Linked DNA regions of Homo sapiens: regions 2, 3, 4 and 5 are each linked to region 1. The links are contacts of gene promoters, found by promoter capture Hi-C in human tissues and cell types (Jung and others, 2019). All regions are on one chromosome and are shown on one strand. Each heading gives the region's core, a stretch centred on a gene start or on the middle of the fragment in contact. The rest is flanking DNA. Distances are from core to core; before and after follow the strand shown.

The links. Contacts are between HindIII fragments. The study calls those that stand out against the background at their distance.
Region 2: a fragment that was not itself captured here is called in contact with the fragment with the promoter of CCDC146 in region 1 in 1 of the 25 tissues and cell types used here (dorsolateral prefrontal cortex).
Region 3: a contact is called between the fragment with the promoter of HSPB1 here and the fragment with the promoter of CCDC146 in region 1, in 1 of the 25 tissues and cell types used here (adrenal gland).
Region 4: a contact is called between a fragment that was not itself captured here and the fragment with the promoter of CCDC146 in region 1, in 1 of the 25 tissues and cell types used here (hippocampus).
Region 5: a fragment that was not itself captured here is called in contact with the fragment with the promoter of CCDC146 in region 1 in 1 of the 25 tissues and cell types used here (hippocampus).

Annotation. Positions count from the first base shown.
Region 1 is chr7:77,121,213-77,123,912 of GRCh38, forward strand. It overlaps CCDC146 (coiled-coil domain containing 146), which reads left to right and starts at 1,403. Exons shown (of 19, transcript NM_020879.3): 1 at 1,403-1,520. It also overlaps the pseudogene FAM185BP. RefSeq lists enhancers at 192-693, 694-1,193 and a silencer at 1,089-1,188. The HindIII fragment of the contact is 9,649 bases long and covers 1-2,584 here.
Region 2 is chr7:76,553,192-76,555,891 of GRCh38, forward strand. All of the region lies in intron 2 of LINC03009 (long intergenic non-protein coding RNA 3009), which reads left to right. Among named protein-coding and RNA genes, the nearest start is that of LINC03009, 5.2 kb to the left of the region's middle. The HindIII fragment of the contact is 3,853 bases long and covers 1-2,700 here.
Region 3 is chr7:76,301,223-76,303,922 of GRCh38, forward strand. It overlaps HSPB1 (heat shock protein family B (small) member 1), which reads left to right and starts at 1,451. Exons shown (of 3, transcript NM_001540.5): 1 at 1,451-1,854; 2 at 2,580-2,643. The coding sequence starts at 1,491. The HindIII fragment of the contact is 16,042 bases long and covers 1-2,700 here.
Region 4 is chr7:76,340,908-76,343,607 of GRCh38, forward strand. The region is part of intron 1 of YWHAG (tyrosine 3-monooxygenase/tryptophan 5-monooxygenase activation protein gamma); the gene reads right to left. Among named protein-coding and RNA genes, the nearest start is that of YWHAG, 17 kb to the right of the region's middle. The HindIII fragment of the contact is 7,858 bases long and covers 1-2,700 here.
Region 5 is chr7:77,681,213-77,683,912 of GRCh38, forward strand. All of the region lies in intron 1 of APTR (Alu-mediated CDKN1A/p21 transcriptional regulator), which reads right to left. Among named protein-coding and RNA genes, the nearest start is that of APTR, 14 kb to the right of the region's middle. The HindIII fragment of the contact is 5,959 bases long and covers 1-2,700 here.

The DNA.
Region 1 (2,700 bases), core at 153-2,652:
AACCAAATACTCAAACCAGGTGGTACCTGGAACATCCTATTGACAGGGCTGTTTTGGGACACACCCCCAGGCTGTGAGCAAGGGGAAATGTAGATGGACTGCCATACCATTGAATGAATTGTCAAGAAACTTCAACCTTGAAAAATAAGCCAGTTTGCTAATGACAACGGGATAAAGAAGAACACAAGCGGCTCCAGAAATAGAATTTGACCTGGATTATACCAAATCGTGTTTCCATTCGATGTATAAAATTTCTATAATTGGGAACCTAATTTTTTAAATACTACTCGGATACTCAAGAATAGAACAGAGGAAAAGTTGCATTTCCGAAGGGGCCAACTGTAAATTAGGTTTAGAAAGCCAGGACCAATTAAAAGTGCACGTCGACCAAATTTATTAAGTTCACTGTGCGTTCCCTGGGACCCAAACCCGTTTTCACTTCACTTCACTTGCCAAACTTCAGGGGCGCGTTCACCTCCACGGACGCCTGGGGGTGGATAGTATCAGACACAATGGCCATCTCCTCCAGATCCTCGTCGTACTTCACCTGCAGGCCGTCCAGGCCCCGCACGCCGCCCTCCACGCCGCACACCGCGACCAGCACGCGGTCGCCATCCGGGTAGGTGAGGGGGTCCAGGGGCCTCACGGCCAGGTGGCACGGGAGCCGCGCCCGCAGCCGACCGAACGGGCTCACCTGCAGTGTCCACTCCTTCAGAGTTCGGCGCGCCGGGCCAGGCGGAGGGACCTCAGTCTCCGATCCGGGCCAGCGCTCGCCCCTACCTGAGCTGTACGGCCTGGCTTGGCAAGCCCAGCAAGACCAGCGCCCAGCGCCAGCCCACAGTCGGACCTGACGGAGACAGAGACGGAAGCAGCCAAGCTCCCAACCTGAACAGGGGGCAAGCATGGCGCGCCTCTCTCGCCAGTCCTCAGAACACTTCAGCCACAGGGAGGGTCACTTGCCACGGCCAATCGACTTGGCCACTGTGCCGCCTCAAGTCAAATAGGAGACGTAAGTCAGGGTTTGCTGAAACAAGAGCGAGCCGGTTGGCTTGACTAGGCGATGTAAACATCAGCTGCGTAATCCCCAGGGGCAAGTTGGGATTTGAAAGCTCTGAACTCTGACCTGGACCCCTTGCCTAAGTCCACCCCCTTTCGCTAAGGCCGACGGGATACGTAGTTCTAAAGCGGTGGAAAGTCGCAGAGCTCCGCCTCTTAGAAACCACATATCCCAGGAGGCAATGCGCAGGGGAGCACGGGTAAGAGGGCAGGTGTTAGAATCGCTGGAAAGGCGGGCGCCCTTTGTTTCAAGACCATTGGCTATTGGAGGGGCGGTACATGGGAGGCCACTGGCCAATGGGAAGCACGGAAGGGGGCAACGAGGGTAAAGCTGCATGGTCACCTTGGATACCAAGGACGCGACTTCTTGTTTGGAGAGGGTGGAGCTTTGGAGTGAGACCCAGGAGGCCAAATCCCAAAGAGAAAAATAGGAGCCTAAATAAGGATCAGGACCAAGGGAAGGGGTAAGAAACTGCGCTTTTTAAGTTGACAACTAGGTGCAAACTAGGAGTAACCTATGTGGATGTCAAGATCCAAGCTTCACTAACCTAGTGCGGGCATCTCCAGGGCATGGAGAATGCCTTGGTAAGAGAGTAAAGAGCAAGATTGGTGCTTTTTGAGGGAATTGCCTCTTTGGAAGTGTATTCCCTCCTATATTCCAAATATAGGAATAGAGTACTTGCTCCGTCCTGACCCTAAGTGACCTTACTTTGGGTTTTAATTTGCTCACTTTAAAAATGTAGATGATAATACCTTCCTTGCCTTGCCTCAAAGGGTTTTTGTGAGGATCAAGTAAGAAAATGGATGGGACCGTGGTGCACAGTCTACCAAATTACCGTGTAAAGTACTGTATTTTTATTTCAACGTACTTAACATTGATTCTGAGTTACCAAGAAAATTATGAGAGATCAGAACTTGTTTTGAGAATAGCATTGATCTCTTTGACTACAAATGATCATCAGTTTTAGAGTGAAAAAAAAAAAGACACAAAAAAGAGAGTCACCATGGTGCGGTGGAAAGAGCAGGGACAAGGGTCAGATTATTTTCCTGGCTCTGCCACTGCTTCATCTGTGTCACCTAGACCTGTTTCTTTAGTTTTAAAATGAAGAAAGATGGTTCTAAATGACCCTATAAGGTGTGTGTGTGTGTGTGTGTGTGTGTGTGTGTGTGTGTGTGTGTGTGTGTGTGTTTACCTTTTATAATTCTATGGGCAGTAAAATAATGGGAACAGAAAGATTTATTTTCTTCTTTTTTTCTTCTTTCCTGCCTGGTTTCTCTCTCCCCCTCTGTGCCCCTACTTCCTCCTAAAATGTATTCCCTAAATTATTTAGCCAAGACACCTGCAAACACTAACATTTCATAAAATGCAAGTGCCTTAAAAAATTGAAGCCCTTACCCAAGTACAATGACCAGAATTCTTGGGGCTATCGTGATAGATAGACTGGGCTAAAGTTCTCATGGGTACAAGTCTCAGGTTCTCTGCTAGCCACTACCTTTTTAAAATTTTTAAAAATTCAGTGTTCTCTTAAGTTATCATTGCCTCTTTTCTGTCCTTCTAGTCCTTGCTCCCTCCTTATTCTTCTTTCGGTGAAGACTCACTCATTATAGGTGCTAGCTCAGGTTCAGCAAGGGCCCACTGCAATA
Region 2 (2,700 bases), core at 113-2,612, 570 kb before region 1:
CATTTGATATGGAATAAAATTGCATCATATGGCCAAGGCATATACACTTAAAGTCTTCAATTTAGAAGCTTTCCAGAGTCAAACTGAGTCAATCTCTGCTTTAGAAGTCTCCCACAAAAAGGATCCTACATAAATTACTGTGTGTTTAAAGGTTTCTGATTTTAATCTAATAACTGAAATATCAAACTATATTTTAATTCAGGCATTTGGGCATCACTACCACGTGTTCTCATCAGATTTAGGAACCCTGCAGCAAGATTTATCAGTGTCAAAATGCTAAAATCCTAAATTTAGTGCCAGAATCCCTCTCAAATGGCATTTATATTTTGATAGCTTAACCTACTTTGAATCCCCTGAGCATCTTGTCTGTTTTTATTAGTAGATTTTGCTGATCTTTTTTAACTTTTCAAAGGCTCTTTAAATTATCCTAAAGTCATATATTTACCATGAGAAAGCAGGTGTCTTTTTAGAGTGTAGATGCTTAAGTCGCTCATAAAATTAATTTCCTCGGGTTAGGAGAACATTTTGAAACTCTAATTTGAAAAACTCTAATCTGGCTTCTAAAAACACTGTATCAGTATTCAGAAATAATAAAAATGGAAACATAACAACATAATAAATTTAATTTAACCTAGCATAGCAAAAGAGTAGGGCATTTTTGCATAATCAGCTAGATAGTTTTCAGAGGCAAACACAGAGCAGTGGAGACTTTGTTTGGAGACAGCCATTGTTTCAAGAAATGGGTGTTGCCTTGATGAAGCTACCCTTGCTTGTCACTGCAGATCCGTCTCCTGCTATCACCAGCTCTGTGTAACATTGCCTATGCTGTGGACACACAGAGATACTTGACAGTCAGTGGATGAACTCAATAAATGTTATTATTTTTAAATACACAGCTTACTAAACAGATAAATAATCTTAAAATTGAGACTGTTCCAGAAACCAGAATGCATTTTCTTCATACTCATAGCTTTTGTGGTTTACATACATTTATATAATTAGAATGCAATAAAATACATTAAACAGTAAAATAATACTCTATATAATTTAATCTCTGGGGATCCAGAAGGCACTTTAAGCTATTACAGTTTCTCAGAGTCAATGTTATGTACTTTATAATTTTTTATTCTACTGGTAAAACATGGTGATATTGATTAACAGATATTTTAGTAGATATAATATTTTATAAACTGATTTTATTATGTCTTGTTAATATTGGGATAATCAGAATATAGAGAGACTTCTATACATACACATATATTCTATATCTTCATAGCTAGACTTGAAGTATCTCACTTTGATGTTTCTAAAAATAAAGTGAGCACTTTTGTTCTTTTTAATATTTTATTTATTTATGTATTTATTTATTTATTTTTGAGACGCAGTCTTGCTCTGTCAACCAGGCTGGAATGCAGTGGTGCGATCTCGGCTCACTGCAAACTCTGCCTTCCTGGTTCAAGCGATTCTCCTGCCTCAGCCTCCTGAGTAGCTGGGATTACAGGCTACTACCACCACGCCTGGTTAATTTTATTTTGTGTGTGTATTTTTAGTAGAGACAGGGTTTCACCATGTTGCCCAGTCTGGTCTCGAACTCCTGACCTCAGGTGATCTGCCCACCTTGGCCTCCCAAAGTGCTGGGATTACAGGCATGAGCCACTATGCCCAGCCCACTTTGTCCTTCAATTTCTTCCTTCTTCTTCATTTTGACCCCCAGTTTACATCATTAAGTACATAGTCTCGAAACCTCAAAGTATCAGTGTTATCCTTATTTTTTTTTCTCCTTCTCTGAATTTGCCTGATAGTCAAAACCTGTGCCTACTACCACTTAAAGGTTTTTTTTTTCATCTGTCTGACTAGATTGTCCACTGTCTCACCAAATCTTGCTTTGACTAGTAATAATGGCAGTTGAGAGTACTGCCTATCACTTGACCAGACTAGCTAAATGCTGAACATTCATTATAATATTTAAATCTTTAAACCAACCTTGATTTTTATTTTGATTTATGAGATGACTCTACCAAAGGTTAGATTCTGATTTTGGAGAGCTAGATCATAATAGAGTCAGAATTCTGTTCTTAACTTCTACACTGTACTCCAACAACAGTCAAACTGTTACTTTCTCATTCAGGGTAAAATCCTGACCAAACCCATTACTGAAAACCTTCCTTTTTTATCTCAGCTCCCAGTCTCCACCCCATGTATCTGATACACCTGTGACAATGATCTTTTCTCCATATCTAGAAAATATCACCAACTTACAGTGCCGTGTTATGGTATAGGCTCTTATTTCCACTTCCTTTCATCACAGTTCTATTTATTTCTCAATACACAGTTGAAGATCAGTTGAAATATCAATTTCAGCATAACTTCCCATACTTGGGCATAATTTAATAGCTTACCAGACAGTAGCATATAATGTAGTGACTTGGGAGCCAGACTTCCTGGGTTTGAATACGGGATGAAAATTCACCAGTCTTTTGACCTTGGGAAAGTTACTAAACCTTCCTATACACCAGTTTCCTCATCCGTGAAATGAGGCAAATTATAGCACCTACCTCTTAGGGTTGTTATAAACCTTAAATCAGTTAGTACAAGTAAAGGCCTTAGAACAGCACCTGGCACATTGTAAGAAATGTCTAAAGGTTCATTGCTATCATTTATTCATTTCCACATCTCATTCCTAAAATAAAAGGTGTTATA
Region 3 (2,700 bases), core at 201-2,700, 820 kb before region 1:
CATCAGCCTCCCAAAGTGCTAAGATTACAGATGTCAGCCACTGCACCCAGCCAGTAATATAATTTTATGGGACCACCTTCATATTTGCTGTCCCTTGCTGACTTACACATCTTTATGCAATGCATGACTGTTACCATCATTATCATCTCTATTTTCCAGATGGGGAAACTGAGGCACAAAGAATCTAACTTGCACAAGTTCATCTGCTTAGTGATGGAACAAAGATGTGAATTCAGGCAGTCTGGCTTCAAAGTCCACACGCCTAACAACCACACCAGATTACTAGATTGCTTTTTTCTTTTTTCTTTTTTTTTTTTTGAGATGGAGTCTCACTCTGTCACCCAGGCTGGAGTACAGTGGTGAGATCTCGGCTCACTGCAACCTCTGCCTTCTGGGTTCAAGCAATTCTCCTGCCTCAGCCTCCCCAGCAGCTGCGATTACAGGCGCCCGCCACCACACCCAGCTAATTTTTGTATTTTTAGTAGAGATGGGGTTTCACCATGTTGGCCAGGCTGGTCTCAAACTCCTGACCTCTGGTGATCCTCCCACCTCGGTCTCCCAAAGTGCTGGGATTACAGGCGTGAGCCACCACGCCCAGCCCAGACTGCTTTATTTTTGTATTTGTATTTATTCATTTACTTATTTTGAGACAGGGTTTTGCTCTGTAGCCCAGGCTGAAGTGCAGTGGTGCAATCCAGCTCACCACAGCCTCTACTCACCGGGGTTCAAAGGATCCTCCTGCTTCAGCCTCTGGAGTAGCTGGGGCCACAGGCATGCACCACCATGCCCAGCTAATTTTTAAATATTTTTTGGTAGAAGTAGGGTCTCACTATGTTGCCCAGACTGGTCTCAAACTCCTAGCCTCAAGGGACCCTTCTGCCTTGGCCTCCCAAAGTGCTGAGATTACAGGCATGAGCCATGCACCCAGCCCCTTTTTAAAATTTTTTTGAGAGACAAGACTTTGATCTGTTGCCTAGGCTGGAGTGCAGTGGTGAGATCATAGCTCACTGCAGCCTCAACTCCTGGGCTCAAGCACCAGACTCCTTTTATCACATTCTATCTCACACGCGTGTGGTTCCAATCCTGCCTCTGCCACTTCTCAGTTGTATGCCCCAACCCAACCTGTCTGGCTCTGTCCTCCTTAACAGAAGGACGGCCCTGGCCACGGGCCACAGCCAGCAACGCTTAAGCACCAGGGCCGGCGAGTGCCCTGCCGTGGCACGGCTCCAGCGTCGCGCTCTCGAATTCATTTGCTTTCCTTAACGAGAGAAGGTTCCAGATGAGGGCTGAACCCTCTTCGCCCCGCCCACGGCCCCTGAACGCTGGGGGAGGAGTGCATGGGGAGGGGCGGCCCTCAAACGGGTCATTGCCATTAATAGAGACCTCAAACACCGCCTGCTAAAAATACCCGACTGGAGGAGCATAAAAGCGCAGCCGAGCCCAGCGCCCCGCACTTTTCTGAGCAGACGTCCAGAGCAGAGTCAGCCAGCATGACCGAGCGCCGCGTCCCCTTCTCGCTCCTGCGGGGCCCCAGCTGGGACCCCTTCCGCGACTGGTACCCGCATAGCCGCCTCTTCGACCAGGCCTTCGGGCTGCCCCGGCTGCCGGAGGAGTGGTCGCAGTGGTTAGGCGGCAGCAGCTGGCCAGGCTACGTGCGCCCCCTGCCCCCCGCCGCCATCGAGAGCCCCGCAGTGGCCGCGCCCGCCTACAGCCGCGCGCTCAGCCGGCAACTCAGCAGCGGGGTCTCGGAGATCCGGCACACTGCGGACCGCTGGCGCGTGTCCCTGGATGTCAACCACTTCGCCCCGGACGAGCTGACGGTCAAGACCAAGGATGGCGTGGTGGAGATCACCGGTGAGCCCCCCTGCTCCTGCAGGGGAGAGGAGGAGGCTAGCAGGGCGGGCAGGGCCGGGGGCGTGCGGTTGAAACGGGGGTCCCGGGGGCCTGGGGAGTTAAACGTTGGCCCAGCACCGGGAAAAACAGGACTCCTGATTCCCTTGCTCAGGAATTGGGAGTGCGGGTCGCTTCTAAGGGCGCTTTCTGCTCTGTAATCCCAGCGCTTTGGGAGGCCGAGACGGGAGGATCGCTTGAGGCCAGGAGTTCAAGACTAGCCTGGGCAACATAGCGAGACGCGCCCCCCCGCCCCGACCCCGCGCCATTACAAAAAAAAAGCAAACAAAAATTTTTTTAAAGATCATCGATGAAGAGAGAAAATGCGCTTTTCTACAGAGTCCCCTTCCCACCCACAGCCCCATCCCCAGATAAGCGGGGAGTTCCCTGGCGCGGTGCCAGTTTCTAGCCGCTGAGTGGGCGTGTGCGCGGCTCCAAGTGCGCCTGCGTACTGCTCACTCCCCAGCTCCGCGCCCTGCTCCGTTCCTCCCAAAACTCTGAATCGAAGAACTTTCCGGAAGTTTCTGAGAGCCCAGACCGGCGGGCACGCCCCCATCCCCAACCCCCTCTGTTAATCCCTACCAGCCTGCAGTCCTGGCTGCTTCCAAGCAGGAGGTGGGGCCTCTGGCCTAGCGGGGCCGAAAGGCAGTCCCCTCCCCCGCAGTCTGATTTCCCTCTTCCCCCCAAAGGCAAGCACGAGGAGCGGCAGGACGAGCATGGCTACATCTCCCGGTGCTTCACGCGGAAATACACGTGAGTCCTGGCGCCAGGTCGGGGTGGGTGGGTGGCGTGGGGGTGGGGTCAGGGAAG
Region 4 (2,700 bases), core at 33-2,532, 780 kb before region 1:
ACTCTGTCACCCAGGCTGGAGTGCAGTAGTATGATCAGGGCCCACTGCAGCCTCGGGCTCAAGCAATCCTTCTGCCTGAGCCTAGCCTCCCAAGTAGCTGGGACTACAGGCATGTGCCACCAAAGTGATCCTCCCGCCCCTCCCCAGCCCCCTAAAGTGCAGGGGAAGCCACCGCACCTGGCCCATACAGAATCTTGTACAGGGGCTGGGAGGGTTGGCTCATGCCTGTAATCCCAGCACTTTAGGAGGCTGAAGCTGGCAGATCACTTGAGGTCAGGAGTTTGAGACCAGCCTGGGCAACATGGTGAAACCCCATCTCTAACTAAAAATAACTAAAAATACAAAAATGAGCCGGGCATGGTGGCTCGCACCTGTAATCCCAGCTACTCAGGAGGCTGAGACACGAGAATCACTTGAACCCAGGAGGCGGAGGCTGTAGTGAGCTGAGGTGGCGCCACTGCACTCCAGCCTGGGTGACAGGACAAGACTCTTGCCTCAAAAAAAAAAAAAAAAAAAAAAAAAAGAGAAATCTTGTAATGTTCACAGCAACGTTAGTCCTAAGAGCCAAAAGGTGGAAACAATGCAAATGTACATCAAATGAGGAACGGCTGAACAAAACGTAGTGTGATCTATGTAATGGAATATTATTTAGACAGACAAATGATGCACTGATAACATGCTACACCGATGATCTCGAAAACATTTTGCTAAATGGAAGCAGCCAGTCCAAAAGACCGCATATTGTTTGATTCCAGTTACATAATATGTCCAGAATAGGCAAATCCATAGAAATAGAAAGCAGATTAGTGGTTACTTAGGGCTGGGTTGGGAGGGGAGGTGATGGGGAATGACTGCCAATATGGGGTTTCTTTTTGGGTTGATGGCATGTTCTAGAATGTGGTGATGGTTATGCAAGTCTGAACATACTGAAAACCATTAAATTGCACACTTTAAATGGGTGAATCGCATGGTATGTAAACTATATCTCAACAAAGCTACTGAAAAATTGCTGCACTATACGACAGTTTATATAGCACTCTCACACACACCAGCAATCAAACATCATCAGCTCACTTGTTTGAAATATAAAATTCGAAATACTTGATGCTTCTTAATACATGGACTTACACACAGAAAACTCACTGTAATGGAGCACAGACCTCTGGCTCTTACATTTAATCCTCCTCTTGTGACCTCCTACCAACATCTAGTAATGTAGTGCAGGTTATATTTCTCAATATCCTCTCCAAAAAGGTGAACGAAAGGGCTTGTTTAGATTTATGCACAGCTATCATAAAAGAAAGATGAAAAAGGACAGGAAATGTACATGTCCTGCCATGGGTATCTGTCATTATGAAGCATTCGATCCCACCAATACGGAGGAAAAAGTCAAAGAAGAAACACACTAAGAGAACTCACTCTGAAATGCAGATAATCCACACCTTCCTCCCCAAACCAGCACTCCCTTCCTTCTTACAAACCCTGCTGGGTGAAGGACGGTCTCTGACCCTATGTTGCACACTCCTGTGAGAACTTGGTTGAATTCCACCTTCAGAGGTTAACAAGTACTTGACTTCTTCATATCAAGGCTGCTTATTTCCCTACAACTGCCATTCGCTGGCCTTAAGATCTTTCTCTCTTGGGGGCCAGAATGCATTTTTGAAACTGGCGAGACTGGTTCTCATATCCTAGAGTCTTCTCTAACTTTACTCACTGTTTCCATCCCTGTCCCAATCTTCCCCTAAATGCGCTCCTGCTTATCAATACCTTTCAGCCTGCTATTTAGTATATCAGGCTTCGAACCTCCGCTGGGCTACTTTCTGAACTCATCAAACAAACTAGTGACTATTTCTAATTAATTACTAGTTTTATCATAGATCTGACTTGGAAGTGGCGGGGAGAGAGGACTTTCCCACCAAAAAATTAAACTGTTAAAAAAAATTAACCAGCCGGGCACAGTGGCTCACACCTGTAATCCCACCACTTTGGGAGGCCGAGGCAGGAGGATCACCTGAGGTCAGGAATTCGAGACCAGCCTAGCCAACATCATGAAGCCCCGTCTCTACTAAAAATACAAAAATTAGCTGGGTGTGGTGGCAGGCGCCTGTAATCCCAGCTACTTGAGAGGGTGAGGTAGGAGAATCGCTTGAAACCAGGAGACAGAGGTTGCAGTGAGCCAAGATTGCACCATTGCACTCCAGCCTGGGTGACAGAGCAAGACTCCATCTCAAGAAAAAAAATTAGGTTGTTATGTGTAAAAGCTGTTGTAAACTATGGTGTACTGCAGCCGTTTTTAAAAATCAGCTTTATTAAGGTATCTACTGGGTGGAGGCCAGGGATGCTGCTGAACACCCTACAATGCACAGGATGGCCTCCACATTAGCAAAGGATCATCTGCTCCGAATGCACATATTGTGGAAGCAGAAGAACCCTGCTGTGAGTTCTCGATACCCCAGCCACCAGACTCAGACTCTTCCCATCACACCTCTCTCTGCTTCTTCACATTAATATAACGCTCATACTCCACCCCTAGAATCTGGGCTTGGCCATATGAATCAGCATCACCCATGAATCATGGTGGTACCTTAACTCAACAGTCACTTCTGAAAGTGTGCTGAATGACATCAATCTCCACATGATGTACCCATCTGAGATTGTTTTCAAAAAGGGTCCTAGTAATTCCTCCTGATTCTGTCATTC
Region 5 (2,700 bases), core at 188-2,687, 560 kb after region 1:
ATGCACAAAAATATTTTCTGTATTAATACATTAATTAACATATTGCTGAGTTCTGGATTTTGCTGACTTACAAATAGGCACCAAAGAAGTACATCTGAGTTTGAGGTGTATCCCTAGCCTTGAAAACTCGATCACAGTGTTTTGTAATCTCAGGCACATGTCTAATGTATGACTTGTATAAAAAGGACAGGTTGTCCTTAATACTTGAAGATTAAGTAGCTAGACTAGTGCATGTTTTGCCTATAGCCCTCCCCATGCTGATGAGATACTATTACACTGTTCACAGCTATGATTTCGCTTGGTAGGACCCCATCTTCAGTCAGTTTGGGCTGGTGTAATAAAGTACCATAAACTGGATAGCTTAAAGACAATTTATTTCTCACAGCTCCGGAGGCCGAATGTCCAAGATCAGAGTGCCATTGTAGGGTTCTGGTGAGGGCTCTTTTCCAGGCCGACTTCTTGTATCCTCACATGGCAGAAAGGGAGTGAGCTAGCTCTATGGACTCTTCTTATATGGCACTAATCCCATCCACGAGGGTTCCACTCTCATGACCTATTACCTCCCAAAGACCCCATCTCCAAAACCCATCACATTGGGAATTAGGTTTCAACATATGAACAGGAAGGGAAACATACATCCATAACCAGCCATATTTTTGCTTTTGACTCCACTTCTGCCTAATGGGATTAAATGATACTTTTTTTCTTAAATGTAAATATTTTTTGCCTATAACTGTTGCATATCACCATCCTGTCTTGAGTTAAAGATAAAATATTTCCCAATTTCTTCAACCTTTAACATAAACTGTACTACAAATGTAAACAAATTGTTTTCCCACCACAATGGCTTTAAAAAGTAGAATAAACACTGCAATCAAGACATCACTTTAAGTTAAATTATTATTTTTTGTTTTTTGCATCAGGGCCTTGCTCTGTTGTCCAGGCTGGAGTGCAGTGGCATGATCATGACTCACTGCAGCCTCAACCTCGTGGGCTCAAGCAATCCTCCCACCTCGGCATCCCAAGTAGCTAGGACTACAGACATATAGTACCATGCCAGCTTAATTTTTTAATTAATTTTAATTTTTAGTAGAGAAAAGGTGATATGGTTTGGCTTTGTCCCCACTCAAATCTCATCTTCAATTGTAGCTCCCAGAACTCCCACATGTGGTGGGAGGGACCCGGTGGGAACTGAATCATGGGGACGCTTTCCCCATACTGTTCTCATGGTAGTGAATAAGTCTCACGAGATCTGATGATTTTATAAGGGGTTTCCCTTCTCACTTGGCTCTCATTTCTCTTTTGTCTGCCGCCACCTAAGACATGCCTTTCACCTTCCGCCATGATTGAGGCCTCTCCAGCCACATGGAACCGTGAGTCCATTAAACCTCTTTTTCCTTATAAATTACCCAGTCTTGGGTATGTCTTTATCAGCAGCATGAGAACGAACTAATATACAAGGGCTGATCTCAAACTCCTGACCTCAAGCAATCCTCCTACCTTGGCATCCCAAAGTATTGGGATTACAGGCGTGAACTACTGCACCTGGCCTAAGGTCAATTCTTGAATACAGAGACTGAGTAAAGATAGGACGTTGATAATTTGGACTCTTAAACATAAACCAACTCTTTAAAGCCTTTACATCATCTCATCAGTGTTGCCTGAAGTTTTTGACCAAGTAGCTCAATTTGCTAGGGCTGCTGTAACAAAGTATCACAAACTGGATAGTTTAAACAACAGACATTTGCCTCACAGTTCCTGAGGCTACAAGTCCAAGATCAAGGTGTCAGCGGGACTGATTCCTTCTGAGGGCTGTGAGGAGAATCTGTCCCAGGACCCTCGCCTAGCTTCTGACAGTTTGCTGGCTACCTTCGGAGTTCCTTGGCTTGTAAAAGCATTACCCCAATGTCCGCCTTTACCTTCAAAAGGCATAGGTATTCTTCCCGTTTGTGTGTCTCTGTTCAAATTTTCTGTTCTTGGAAGGACATTAGTCATACTGGATTAGGGATTGGGGGCCCACCTTTTCGCTCCTTCTTTTCTTCTTTCTTTTGTTTGTTTGCTTGTTTGTTTGAGACAGAGTCTAGCCCTGTCTCCTAAGCTGGAGTGCAGTGGTGTGATCTTGGTTCACTGCAAACTCCACCTCCCAGGTTTAAGCGATTCTCCTGCCTCACCCTCCCGAGTAGCTGGGATTACTTACAGGTGTCCGCCACCAAAATACAAAATAATTTTTGTATTTTTAGTAGAGATGGGGTTTCACTATGTTGGCCAGGCTGGTCTCGAACTCCTGACCTCAGGTGATCCGCCCGCCTTGGCCTCCCAAAGTGCTGGGATTACAGGTGTGAGACATCAAGCCCAGCCTAATTTGTGTATTTTTAGTAGAGACGGAGTTTCACCATGTTGCCCAGGTTGCTCTTGATCTCCTGACTTCAGGTGATCCACCCACCTTGGCCTCCCCAGAGTGCTGCGATTACAGGTGTGAGCCACCATGCCTGGCCTCCTATTGCTTCTTAACTTGACCTCATTAACTATTGCATCTGCAATGATAGTATTTCCAAATAAGGTCACAGTTTGAGATAATGAGGGTTAGAACTTAAACATGAATTTTTGAGGTACACAATTTAACCTGTAATACACCATATTATGTCTATATTTATTTATTTATAAATTATTTGGATCCAGTACTATAATAACAATTACACA